Linked DNA regions of Homo sapiens: region 2 is linked to region 1. Evidence: promoter capture Hi-C in 16 types of primary human blood cells and fetal thymus (Javierre and others, 2016). All regions are on one chromosome and are shown on one strand. The core of a region is centred on a gene start or on the middle of the fragment in contact, and the rest is flanking DNA. Distances in the headings are between cores, read along the strand shown. Region 1 holds the start of PLEKHA4 (pleckstrin homology domain containing A4). Region 2 overlaps GYS1 (glycogen synthase 1).

Region 1 (6,453 bases), core at 272-2,771:
GCGCGGTGGCTCACGCCTGTAATCCTAGCACTTTGGGACGCTGAGGCAGGTGGATCATGAGGTCAGGAGATCAAGACCATCCTGGCTAACACGGTGAAACCCCGCCTCCACTAAAAATACAAAATAAATTAGCCGGGCGTGGTGGTGGGCACCTGTAGTCCCAGCTACTCGGGAGGCTGAGGCAGGAGAATGGCGTGAACCTGGGAGGCAGAGCTTGCAGTGAGCTGAGATCGTGCCACTGTACTCCAGCCTGGGCGACAGAGCGAGACTCCGTCTCAAAAAAATAATAATAATAATTAATTTAGGCCGGGTGCAGTGGCATGTGCCTGTAGTTCCAGCTACTCAGGAGGCTGAGTCAGGAGAATCGCTTGAACCCGGGAGGCGGAGGTTGCAGTGAGCCGAGATCACGCCACTGCACTCCAGCCTGGCGACAGAGCAAAACACCGCCTCAAAAAAAAAAAAAAAAGAAATTCATTTTCTAAATAGAGACAAGGTCTCGCTATGATGCCCAGGCTGGTGTTGAACTCCTGGTCTCAAGCGATCCTCCTGCCTTGGCCTCCCAAAGTGCTGGGATTACAGGCGTGAGCCATTGCACCCAGCCAGGGCTCACTGCTTTCTTCTCAGTGGCTGCAACAGACAGTGCCTGCACACAGTAGGTGCTCAACAGGTGCATGGTGAATGGCAGTTAAACCGAAAGCTCAGATTCCTTCCCGGTCACAGGCACAAGGCTCCACTCCTGGGTGTCATCTGCTTCAGACTTAGGCAGTAGCTCTGCCCCCACAAGCCGCGATTCTGCCTGGGTGGCACTCTTTGTGCGGGTGGGGGCGCTTCTGCTACAAGTTCCAGGCCCTGGGTGACAGTTCCAGCCCCCCGCTCTCCTCCCCTGCCTACGGATGCATAATCTTGTTCCTCAAAATATACCAAGGAATCATGTCTCTCTCCTGAGGGAGTTGTCCTCAGTCTAGAAGAGAATTCTCACCTGGATCTGAGGTGGAGGTTTGGAACTCTCCATTTCACCCTGCCCTACTGGGACCATCCCCTTTTCTCCCTAGGGGACCTGGACAAACCGTCCCTGGCCCCTTCCAAGCACAGCCATGTTTCCAGACCCCCAGCTCTTTCACGACTCAGGAGTCCTGATCCTAGCTCAGACCTTCTCGGGCACCCAGGAGTCTGGATCCCTAACCCATTCCCTCCAGGGCTTTGGAAATTTGAGTCCCCACCCCTTGCAGGACACAAGCCTCCTCCGTTTAGGACACCAGTGGCTCAGGCCCCCAACCACAGCAGCAAACCCACGGGGGCCCTGGAGTGCAGGCCTCAAGTCCAACTCTCCAAACACTGAGAAGTCCCAACCTTGGTCCTTAGGGGACCTGGGAATTGGGGGGCCCAAGCCCCTCCCTTCAGCTATGGGGGCAGCTGAGCCAGAGGTCAGGCTGTAGTGGGGAGGCCAGAAGGGGCGGGGACAGCCGGGATTGGGAGGGGAGAACAGCAGCGTGGGCGGCTGGCAGAGGCAGGGAAAGACCAGCAGAGAGGAAAGAGAAACTGGGAGAGGGAGGAAGGGAGAAAGTGAGAAGGGAAATCGGAAAGAGAAAAGGGAGGAAACGGCAGAGCCAGAGAGAAAGAGGAAGAGACTGAGTGTGAAGGAGAGAGGACACAGGGGATGACTGAGAGACAGAGAGAGAGAGAGAGAGAGAATGAGACAGAGACTTAAGGAAGAGACCCTGTGAGTCTGACAATAAAAGATTTGGACAGAAACAGAAAGATTGGAGAGAGAGAGAGAGGGAGAGAATGAGTGAGAGAGAGACTGGAAGAGACAGAGATCAGAGGGAGACACAGAAAGTGAGAGTGGGGAGAGAGGTAGTGTAAAAGGAAGAGAGAGAGAGAGAGACCGTAAGAGACAGGAGACAAAGAGACAAAAAGTGTGAGTGAGCAGGTGAGGAGAGAGATTGAGAACTATGAGAGACAGCAGCTAAGAGACAAAGGAGGCGGGAGACTGCCTAGGTGCCGCAGCACCCACACCGTCCTCTTGCCCCCCCGTCACTGGGACCCCAGAGCTGGGTAAGTTCCCTGGCTGGGCTGGGAGGGGCTCTCTGGGTTCACATTCCTGGTGCCGCAGGGCTTGGCTTGGGGAGTTGGCAGGGGTGGTTTGGGGGTGCATGTGGGAGGGCGGGAGACAGGTAGCCTGGGGCAGCCGGAAGGAGGCAGGGAATGGGGAGTCCCTAAGCACAGAGAGGGTCAAATTCCTGGCCTGAGTGCAGTGGGCAGGAATAAAGAAGCCCCTATTCTCTGGCCTGGGCTGCAGACAGCTGCCCCCTCCCGCAGCTGCCAGGGCCGCCTACCTCTCTTGGCACCACTCTTGGTATGTGGTCACGGGCCATGGCCTCCCCCAGCCCCCCAAGTCCCGAAACAACAGGCTCTTTCTCTGCAGCCTCCTCCGACCTCCAAGCCCCTGACCCCATCTCTGTCTCACACCCGTCACTGCAGAGACACAGCCCCTTTCTTTCTCTCCCCCAGCCCTTGATGGAGGGGAGCCGACCTCGCAGCAGCCTGAGCCTGGCCAGCAGCGCCTCCACCATCTCCTCGCTCAGCAGCCTGAGCCCCAAGGTTTGAGCTTCCTGGCGGGGATGGGGAGGAAGGTGGGGCTCTGGGCCGCCCATCCTTCTGTTTCCCCAAGGACTCTGGTTGTTAAGGACAAAGATCCTTAGCAACGGGGTCTGCCAGACATAGTAAGGTCCCAAATTGCCTACACACCGCAGCTAGGAATTCAGAGGCACTCCCAGCTCTGTCCCCACCCTTTGTATTTTCCTAATTCTAAACCAGAGTAACAACCTCCCTTGACCCTGGTTGCTAAGATAAAGCCGCTCCCCAGCCATGAGGCCCCTCGAGTTCTGAGAAGTAGTGGCTGCTCTTGATTAGTGCCAGAACTTGCTGTCCTATCTCTCGCCATCCAATCTACCCACTAATGAAATCCTATAAGGAGAGACCCTTCTCTGACAATAAGACCCAAGGGGCCTCCAGATACTTGCATCCCAAATCGGCATCCCAGCCAAAAGCTTAGGGAGACACTCATTTCTTTTTCCTCCTGCCGTTCCACACATATTGTTTCTCAAGTTCAGAGCCCAGAGATCTGATCTCAGCCTTGGTCAGTACCACCGCTTCCAAGGAAGGGCATATTGTCGGGACCTGGCTAAGGATGCCTGAGATATCTGTGGGCATCAGGAGATGAGGCTCCATCCGGGCAGGATGGAGGGATTTGAGGCTTCCTCTCCTTGTACTTGGTTGCTAAGGGGTGTGACCGCAGGGCACCAGGGCATCCTTTGATTCACTGGAGACTCAGCGTGAGAGTTCCCCCTGATTATGGGGCCCTCCCAGCCCATAGTCCCAGTTCAGATCCCAAAGGACCTACTACAGCTCTGGCTCTGGTGGCCAAGGGCATCTGCTTCTTGGCAGTGGATGCTTGATCCCCAAATTGCTTCCCTACAGCCTCTTCCTTGCCTCTGAACACCTCCCTCTGCCCATCAAAAAAAGAGTCTCGGCCCGGCGCAGTGGCTCACGCCTATAATCCCAGCACTTTAAGAGGCTGAGGCGGGTGGATCACCTGAGGTCAGGAGTTCAAGAGCAGCCTGACTGACATGGCGAAACCGCGTCTCTGCTAAAAATACAAAAATTAGCCAGGCGTGGTGGCACGTGCCTGCAATCTCAGCTACTCAGGAGGCTGAGGCAGGAGAATCACTTGAACCCGAGAGGCAGGGGTTGCAGTGAGCCAAGATGGTGCCAGTGTGCTCCAGCCTGGGGGACAGAGCGAGACTCTGTCTCAAAAGAAAAAGAAAAAAAGAGTCTCTCCCAGCCTGGGCAACAAAGTGAGACCCCCGTCCCCTACAAAAAGTAAAAAAATTAGCTGGGCATGGTGGGACATGCCTGTGGTCCCAGCTACATGGGAGGCTGAGGCTGGAGGATCACCTGAGTCCAGGAGGTAAAGGCTGCAGTGTTTAGGCTACTGCACTCCAAAGAGCCTGTCAAAAAAAAAAGAGTCTCTTAACTCTGCAATAAGAACACCTCCCAATTCTGATCTCCAACTTCAGCCCCCACCTTGACCCTTTTCTTTCTTTCTTTTTTTTTTTTTCTTTGAGACGGAGTCTCACTCTGTCTCCCGGGCTGGAGTGCAGTGGTGCGATCTCGGCTCACTGCAAGCTCCTCCTCCCGGGTTCTCGCCATTCTCCTGCCTCAGCCTCCCGAGTAGCTGGGACTACAGGCGCCCGCCACCACGCCCGGCTAATTTTTTGTATTTTTAGTAGAGACGGGGTTTCACCGTGTTAGCCAGGATGGTCTCGATCTCCTGACCTCGTGATCCACCCGTCTCAGCCTCCGAAAGTGCTGGGATTACAGGTGTGAGCCACTGCGCCCGGCTGGTCCTTGACCCATTTCTCAGGGCAGCCAAGCGAGAGCCTACGGTTGCCTGTGTCCACCCTCACCCCCTCCCAGGACCATCCTAGGCTCTCCCTGTTCACTTCTGTCCCCTTCTCTCCTCAGAAGCCCACCCGGGCAGTAAACAAGATCCACGCCTTTGGGAAGAGAGGCAATGCGCTCAGGAGGGATCCCAACCTTCCCGTGCACATCCGAGGCTGGCTTCATAAGCAGGTGGGGTCAGTAGGAGAAGGAAAAGGACACTGAAGTCTGTGCCCCGGCTGTCCTCTGTCTCTCTCCTTGCAAGTCCCCAAATAGGCTTTCTTTTTCTTGCTATCACTGCCCCTCCCCTTAGTCCGTCATTGTTTGTTTGTTTGTTTATTTATTTATTTTTAAGACAGAGTCTCTTTCTGTCGCCCAGGCTGGAGGGCAGTGGTATGATCTCGGCTCAATGCAACCTCTGGCCTCCAGTTCAAGCAATTCTCGTGCCTCAGCCTCCCGAGTAGCTGGGCTTACAGGCATGCACCATCATGCCTAGCTAATATTTGTATTTTTAGTAGAGATGGGGTTTTATCATGTTGGCCAGGGCGGTCTGAAACTCCCGACCTCAAGTGATCCACCCGCCTCGGCTCCCTAAAATGCTGGGATTACAGGCGTGAGCCACCGTGCCTGGCCCATTCATTCATTCTTTCTTGACTACTTCTTGAACACTTACAGTGTTCCCAATCCCAGGGCACACACCATGCAAATAACACAAAAGTATTTATATTACATTCCAGATTGGGTGGAGCATGGGTGGATAATAAATTAGTAAATAAATAAATGGACTTGGTCATTTCAGATCGCAGGATGGGCTATGAAGAAGTAACATAGGGTCCAGGTTCAGTGGTGTAACCCCAGCATTTTGGGAGGCCAAGACGGGAAGATCGCTTGAGCTTAGGAATTCTAGACCAGCCTGGGCAACATGAAGAAACCTCATCTCAACAACAAATACACACACACACAAAACCTAGCTGAGCGTGGTGGTGTGCGCCTATAGTCCCAGCTACTCGGGAGGCTAAGGCAGGAGGATTGCTGAAGCCCAGGAGGCTGAGGCTGCAGTGAACTGTGTTCATGTCACTGCACACCAGCCTGGGTGACAGAGTGAGACCCTGTCTCAAAAACAAAAACAAAAAAACGGAATATGATGTGCTTGAACGTGGCTGAGAGAGGAGAACTTCAATTTGACATTTGGTCAGGGAAAATTATCTCTGAGGTGACATTTGAGCTGGCTGAGCATAGTGGGTCATGCCGGTAATTCAAACGCTTTGGGAGGCTGAGGCGGGCGGATCACCTGAGGTCAGGAGTTCAAGACCAGCCTGGTCAACATGGCGAAACCCTGGCTCTACTAAAAAATACAAAAATTAGCCGGGCCAGCTTGGGGGTGCCTGTAATCCCAACTACTTGGGAGGCTGAGACAAGGAAAATTTGAATCTGGGAGGTGGAGGTTGCAGTGAGCCGAGGTTGCGCCATTGCACTCCAGCCTGGATGATGGAGTGAGACTCCATGTCAAAAAAAAAAAAAAGACCTGGAGGCAGATCGCATCCAAAAGGAAAAGGTCTGCAGCAGGCAAAACCTTGGTGTCAAGTGAGGCCAGGGGAAGAAGCCAGGAGGAGCAGCAGAGCAGTGGTTCTCAAAGTGTGGTCCCAGACCAGCAGCATCAGCGTCATCTGGGGACTTGCTAGAAAGGCAAATGATGAGGTACCATCATAGATTTGCCAAATCAGGAACTCTGGGGATGGGGCCCCAGAATCTGTGTTTTAACACACCTTCCTGGTGATTCTTATGCACCTTCAAACTCAAAACTCTCTGCAAAGCAGTACATGGGCTGGGCACGATGGCTGACGCCTGTAATCCCAGCACTTCGGGAGGTCGAGGCAGGTGGATCACAAGGTCAAGAGTTCGAGACAAGCCTGGCCAATATGGTGAAACCCCATCTCTACTAAAAATACAAAAATTAGGCTGGGCGTGGTGGCTCACTCCTGTAATCTCAGCACTTTGGGAGGCCAAGGT
Region 2 (7,342 bases), core at 4,483-6,982, 120 kb before region 1:
GAGCTTGAAGTTCAAGTTCACCCTCCACTTGCTGCCTGTGTGTCCTTGGCTAATGGACATGCTAATAGCGTCTACCTTCTAGCGGTGCTGGGAGGAGGAAACAGTTAATAAGGACAAAGTGGTTAGTAGAGTTCTTGGCATGAAGGTAGCACATTGTGTGGGCGGTGATTGTCATTGTTATGATCATCGTCATTATTGTTACTAACAGCCAAGCTTGGAGAGTGAGGGGGACAGGCAGACCAAGGGAGAAGGGTGGATGGAGCCACAGGCAAGAGTAATAGACTGGGGACAGAAGAGAGGCCACCAGATGTTTCAGAAAGCCAGTCCTAGAAGGAGAGAGAAGCATGGAATATCGGGGAAGAGAGGAGAGGTCAGTGGACAGACCCACAGGACAGAGTCTGAGATGGGCAGATCAGGGATTAGAGAGGAGGGGGAGTTCCAGGGCCCCAGGGTGAAGACGGAAAGAGACACGCTGTTGTCCAAGGAGAAAGCCATCAGGCGGCACGCTGTTGTCCAAGGAGAAAGCCATCAGGCGGCAGGGCTAAGGGACAGACAGGTCCAGGCTGGGGATGGAGAGGCACTGTGGTTCCTTTACTCATTCACAGCCTCTGGTTTGGGGTGGGGTCTGGAATCCATTCAGGTCCGACTGTGTCCCTAAGGGAACCCAGAACAGCCCAGTCGCTTCCTGAGGGCAGCTGCTTCCCACGTGCTGGGGGCCTAAGAATAGCCCCCCCCCCCCCCCAGCAAAAGGGCAGACAACAGCTGGGAGGGGGAGGGACCTCAGAGCGAGGCTCCAGGCAGCAAAAAGCCAGGTCGGCGAGGAGCGGGGCTGCTTCTCCACTGCTGTGGCAGCAGGCCCAGAACCAAAGCCATGGTCTCAGGGAGGAAAACAGCCAACTGGAGAAATGTGGCAGAGGCAGAAGTGAGACAGCAAGTCTTAGAAACACGGCAGTGGCTAGAAAAATGCAGCCCTGGGGCACGGACAGAGGATGGGCTATGTTAGAAATGTGTGGCGTGGCCGAGGGCGGTGGCTCATGCCTGGAATCCCAGCACTTTGGGAGGCCGAGGTGAGAGGATAGCTTGAGCCCAGGAGTTCCTGACCCACCTGGGCAACATGGCGAAACTCTGTCTCTACTAAAAATACAAAAAATTAGCCAGGCATGATGGTGCGTGCTCGTGATCCCAGTTACTCAGGAGGCTGAGGTGGGAGGATGGGATGTGGAGGCTGTAGTGAGCCATAATTTTTTTTTTTTTTTTTTCAGATAGAATCTCACTCTGTCGCTGAGTCTGGAGTGCAGTGGTACAATCTCGACTCACTGCAACCTCCGCCTCCCGCGTTCAAGCAATTCTCCTGCCTCGGCCTCCCAAGTAGCTGGGACCTCAGGCACATGCTGCCACGCCCGGCTAATTTTTTGTATTTTAGTAGAGACAGGGTTTCACCATGTTGCCCAGGCTGGTCTCAAACTCCTGAGCTCAGGCAATCCGCCCGCCTCGGCCCCCCAAAGAGCTAGGATTACAGGCGTGAGCCACCGCGCCCAGCCCAGTGAGCCATGATTGCACCACTGCACTCCAGCCTGGGTGACCGGAGTGAGACCCTGTCAAAAACAAAAACAAACAAAAAAAAATGGAAGAAAGAAAGAAAAAGGAGAGAGGGAGGGAAGGAGGGAGAGAGGGAAGGAAGGAAGGAAGGAAGCAAGGAAGGAAGGAAGGAGGCTGTGGACTACAAAATGGGCCTATGGATAGAGGAAAGAGGTCGCAGGTGACAGATATGTGATGAAAGGAACAGAAACAAGGCATCATGGGGAAGAAAAGTGGCAGCATGAACAGTAAGAGAATCATTACAGGCTGGGTGCAGTAGCTCACGCCTGTAATCCCAGCACTTTGGTAGGCTGAGGCCAGGAGTTTGAGACCAGCCTGGGCAACATGGTGAAACCCTGTCCTTACAAAAAAGTTAAAAATTAGCCGGGATGTGATACCTTGTGCCTGTGGTCCCAGCTACGTGGGAAGCTGCGGTGGAAGGATTGCTTGAGCCTGGGAGATCGAAGCTTCAGTGAACCGTAATTGCACCACTCCCTTCCAGGCTGGAGGACAGAGCAAGACCCCGTCTCTGAAAATAAAAAAGGGCCTGCTTTAGGTGGCTCACACTTCTAATCTCAACACTTTGGGAGGCTAAGCAAGAAAACTGCTTGAACGCAGGAGTTCACGATCAGCCTGGGCAACATAGTGAGACCCCATCTCCACAAAAAATTAAAAAATCAGCCTGGCATGGTGGCCCACGCCTGTAGGAGGTGAGGTGGGAGGATTGACTGAGCCAGGGAGGTTGAGGCTATAGTGAACCATGTTCACACCACTGCACTCCAGCCTGGGCAACAGAGCGAGACCCTGTCTGAAAACAAAAAAGAAGCATCCCGTGGAAGGAATTAGCATCAGAAAGAAAAGACAGTGGGAGATGCAGATGGTTGGTAAGAGAAATGTGGCAGCAAGTACAGAAACAAGGCAGCAGGTAGGGGAAATGATTTGCAGAGTGGCCAGACAGGGCAGTGGGGGCATAGACACAGGACATGTGACATATGTGGTTATAAGCAGAGAAAGGAGGCAGCGAGTGGGAGAAGGGTAGCAGTTACAGGAATTAAACAGGAGGCTGGGTGCGGTGGCTCACGCCTGTAATCCCAGCACTTTGGGACGCCGAGGCGGGCGGATCACAAGGTCGGGAAATGGAGATCATCCTGGCTAACACAGTGAAACCTCGTCTCTACTGAAAATACAAAAAAAAGTAGCCGGGCGTGGTGGCGGGCCGCTGTAGTCCCAGCTACTCGGGAGGCTGAGGCAGGAGAATGGTGTGAACCCAGGAGGCAGAGGTTGCAGTGAGCCGAGATCATGCCACGGCACTCCAGCCTGGGCAACAGAGCCAGACTCCGTCTCAAGAAAAAAAAAAAATTAGCCAGGTGTGGGAGCGGGTGCCTGTAATCCCAGCTACTTGGGAGGCTGAGGCAGGAGAATTGCTTGAACCCGGGAGACAGAGGTTGCAGTGAGCTGAGATCGCACCACTGCACTCCAGCCTGGGCCACAGAGTGAGACTCCATCTCAAAAAAAAGAAAGAAAGAAAGTAAGCAGGGGGCACGGAAAATATTGCAACAGAGATGGAAAAAATGTGTAGCAGGAATAAATCATGCAAATAGAGAAGTAAGGCTAAGGCAGCAGGTGAGAAATTAGCAGCAGATATGGAAACAGAAGATAAGAGAGCTGAGGCTTAAGTCTATAGACATCTGCCTGCAAATGGGAGAACCACGGATGAGTGAAGATATGAGGCTGAAGCCCAGAGCCTCCCTATGGTGCCTCCCCAACCCCATCCCAGGTGTATTTCGGGCGCTGGCTGATCGAGGGAGGCCCTCTGGTGGTGCTCCTGGACGTGGGTGCCTCAGCTTGGGCCCTGGAGCGCTGGAAGGGAGAGCTCTGGGATACCTGCAACATCGGAGTGCCGTGGTACGACCGCGAGGCCAACGACGCTGTCCTCTTTGGCTTTCTGACCACCTGGTTCCTGGGTGAGGTAGGCCCCGTCTGACACATTCCACCCATACCTGAAACTACAATGACCATCAGCCCCTGGGCCAGAGGATGGGCTTCTCCCTGGGCATTCTGGGAGTCATAGGGTCCTTTAATCCAAGGATTAGCTCTGGCCTTTGAGGACATGAACATCCAAGGGCCCAGGCTCTACTCTCGATGCCAACTTCATTTACTCTAGTCTTCCAAGCATAGGGATTCTTGGAATCAGCCTCAAAGTGAGGCTGGCGGGCTTGCCCGAGGAATTCTAGGAGTTGTAGTTCTCTAGTGTGATATTGCTGGACTCAGCTCTCAGATGCTGCCCTGGATGCTCATGAATCCCCAGCCTGACCTGGTTTTGACCCCCTTCTAGGTTTTAAGAGGCTCAAGAAGCTTAGTTTCCAGGCTGGGCACGGTGGCTCATGCCTGTAATCCCAGCACTTTGGGAGGCCGATGGGGGAAGATCACGTGAGGCCAGGAGTTCAAGATGGCCAAACCTCGTCTTTACTAAACATACAAAAAAATTAGCTGGGTGTGGTGGTGGGCACCTGTAATCCCAAATCCCAGCTACTTGGGAGGCTGAGACAGGAGAATTGCTTGAACCTGGGAGGCGGGAATTGCAGTGAGCTGAGATTGCATCACGGCACTCCAGCCTGGGCCACAGAGTGAGACACTGTCTCAAAAAAAAAAAGAAAAAGAAAAAAAAAAAAAGAAGCTTAATTTCTCATGCCCTGGGACAAATAATTGAGGAACTGGCTGCTCCTATGGCATTCTGGGAGTTGTAGTCCCTTTGCCAATGTTGGGTGCAGACAGCGTACCCTTGAGACAAGGGGTCTTTGGAAACTATGTCCAGGACCTGGGAACATGAAAACTTCAGTCTGTCCAATCTAACCCTGCCAGGACTTAGATGGTTGGCCAAAAAATCCTCAGTTCCTGTCAACCCCTGAGGAGGCAGTCACTTGAGCCCAGGAGTTCAAGACCAGCCTGGGCTGCCTCAGGGATTTACAGGTCCCTGTCCGGTTGGGATTGCTGCAGTGGGCCGCTGCCCACTCTGTGCAGTAGTGGTGACAGATTGACCTCTCCCCGAGTCCTTGTCCCTACTGGGGATTGCCGATTCTTTTCCCAACACTCGTGGAGACAGTGGCCCTGTCCCTGTTGCCCACAGTTCCTGGCACAGAGTGAGGAGAAGCCACATGTGGTTGCTCACTTCCATGAGTGGTTGGCAGGCGTTGGACTCTGCCTGTGTCGTGCCCGGCGACTGCCTGTAGCAACCATCTTCACCACCCATGCCACGCTGCTGGGGCGCTACCTGTGTGCCGGTGCCGTGGACTTCTACAACAACCTGGAGAACGTGAGCTGGGACCGTGGCAGATGGGGGACTGCGAGTATGCCAGGAAAACCCAAAGCTCTGGGGGGCCCAAGGGGATGGCACCCCCTCTTCTCCCAGGATCCAGGAGTCCAAGTCCCCAGACCCCTCCTACCTCAGACCCAGGAATCCAGCCCCCAGCACCAATTTCTCTTGGGACCCCAGTGTCTGGACCTCCAGAGTCTTCTCCCCAATCCTTCTAACCGGACTGCTGTCCCCTCCCACCCAGTTCAACGTGGACAAGGAAGCAGGGGAGAGGCAGATCTACCACCGATACTGCATGGAAAGGGCGGCAGCCCACTGCGCTCACGTCTTCACTACTGTGTCCCAGATCACCGCCATCGAGGCACAGCACTTGCTCAAGAGGAAACCAGGTAGGGGCTGGGCTGAAGTCCCCAGACGTGAATGAGGTAGGCAGCTGTCTATGCCAAAGCCAGTTGCTCCTCAGCCCAAGAAGCCCACTGTAAGTTGAAATAGCATAAACCGAAAACGTATTTCGGCTGGGCATGGTGGCTCACACCTGTAATCTCAGCACTTTGAGAGGCCAAGGCAGGAGAACCACTTGAGCCCGGGAATTTGAGACCAGCCTGGGCAACATGGCGAATCCCTGTCTAAAATATTCGCCAGACATGGTGTGTGCCTGTATCCCTAGCTACTCAGGAGGCTGAGGTGGGAGGATTGCTCGAGCCTAGGAGGTCAAGGGTGCAGTGAGCTGTGATCGTGCCATTGCATGATTTGGGTGGCCTGGAGAGACCCTGTCACAGCCTGGGTGACACAGTGAGACCCTGTCTCAAAAAATAAAAAAATGCATTTAATACACCTAACCTACTGAACATCATAGCTTAGGCTAGTATACCTTAAATGTGCCCAGAACACTTTATGTTAGCCTACGACTGGGCAAAATCATCCAATACAAATCTGTTTTATTTTATTTTTATTTATTTATTTATTTTTGAGACGGAGTCTCGCTCTGTCGCCCAGGCTGGAGTGCAGTGGCGCTATCTTGGCTCACTGTAAGCTCCGCCTCCCAGGTTCATGCCATTCTCCTGCCTCAGCCTCCCAAGTAGCTGGGACTATACGCGCCTGCCACCACGCCTGGCTAATTTTAATACAAACCTATTTTATAATAAAGTGTTGAATAGGCTGGGCGCAGTGGCTCACACCTGTAATCCCAACACTTTGGGAGGCCAAGGCGGGCAGATCACGAGGTCAGGAGATCGAGACCAGCCTGGCCAACATGGCGAAACTCCATCTCTACTAAAAATACAAAAATTAGCCGGGCGTGGTGGTGGGTGCCTGTAATCCCAGCTACTCGGGAGGCTGAGGCAGGAGAATCACTTGAACCCAGGAGGCGGAGGTTGCAGTGGGCCGAGATCACACCACTGCACTCCAGCCTGGACAACAGAGCGAGACTCCATCTCAAAAAATTAAAAAAAAAAAGTGTTGAATATCTCATCAAAATCCAAAATTGGACTCATGTGGATGTATGTAACTTTCACACCATCATAAGGTTGAAAAATCATAACTTGGCTGGGCACGGTGGCTTACACCTGTAATCCCAGCACTTTGGAAGGCTGAGGTGGGCAGATCACCTGAGGTCATGTGCTCAAGACCAGCCTGGCCAACATTGTGAGACCCCCTCTCTGCCAAAAATACAAAAATTAGGTGGGCATGGTGGCAGGCGCCTGTAATCCCAGCCACCCAGCTACTCGGGAGGCTGAGGCAGGAGAATCTCTTGAACCCAGGAGGCAGAGGTTGTCGTGAGCCAAGATTGTGCCATTGCACTCCAGCCTGGGCAACAAGAGCGAAACTCTGTCTCGAAAAGAAAAATCATAACTTGGACCATCCTAAGTCCTAAGCTGGGGACCATCAGTTACCATTTTTTTACCTAAAGAATAGAGAACTACAGCTCCCAGAAGGCTGTGGGGGTGGTGACCTGTATTTGAGGCTCTCTGACTATATACTCTGGAGGCTAATGGGAGGTATAATTTCTTTCATATTAATTTCAGATATGATAAAATTCTGTAATTGGCTAATGTAGATTGGTCTTATGAAAGGGAATGGAAGATCAGTGGACTTTGCTTTTGAGAAAGGTTAGGTCAGAACTGGGCATTCTTCCCAGCCCTTAGTATCCGTTCTCAGTGAGTATAAGGTGAGAACTACAACTCCCAGAAGGCCTTTGACTGGTTAGCTCTATATGTTCCAGAACTTTGCCCTAGGCGCTGATGGGGGTTGTAGTTTTTCGTTGATATACTTTAATTTCTATGAGGAGAAGAAATGATTGGGTCCCTGTAAGAAGCTTGGAAGTAGAGGATATATCCTAGGAGAAGCAGGACTTTGGGGATGTTTAATCATTTCCATCTCAGGGTGGGCTAAGAGGAAACAAAAGAAGTACAACTTTCCCAGAATCACCAGTGTGGATCAGATCCCTGTTAG

The links. The method cuts DNA at HindIII sites, captures the fragments that hold promoters and counts their contacts. A CHiCAGO score of 5 or more calls a contact.
Region 2: a fragment that was not itself captured here is called in contact with the fragment with the promoter of PLEKHA4 in region 1 in 4 of 17 cell types (erythroblasts, M1 macrophages, monocytes and 1 more); the score reaches 6.7 in erythroblasts.

What each region holds. Positions count from the first base shown.
Region 1 is chr19:48,863,685-48,870,137 of GRCh38, reverse strand. It overlaps PLEKHA4 (pleckstrin homology domain containing A4), which reads left to right and starts at 1,521. Exons shown (of 20, transcript NM_020904.3): 1 at 1,521-2,055; 2 at 2,512-2,601; 3 at 4,528-4,635. The coding sequence starts at 2,518. The HindIII fragment of the contact is 18,917 bases long and covers 1-3,052 here.
Region 2 is chr19:48,983,399-48,990,740 of GRCh38, reverse strand. It overlaps GYS1 (glycogen synthase 1), which reads left to right. Exons shown (of 16, transcript NM_002103.5): 3 at 3,356-3,547; 4 at 4,706-4,891; 5 at 5,136-5,280. Among named protein-coding and RNA genes, the nearest start is that of GYS1, 6.2 kb to the left of the region's middle. RefSeq lists an enhancer at 585-976 and a silencer at 2,107-2,289. The HindIII fragment of the contact is 2,950 bases long and covers 4,258-7,207 here.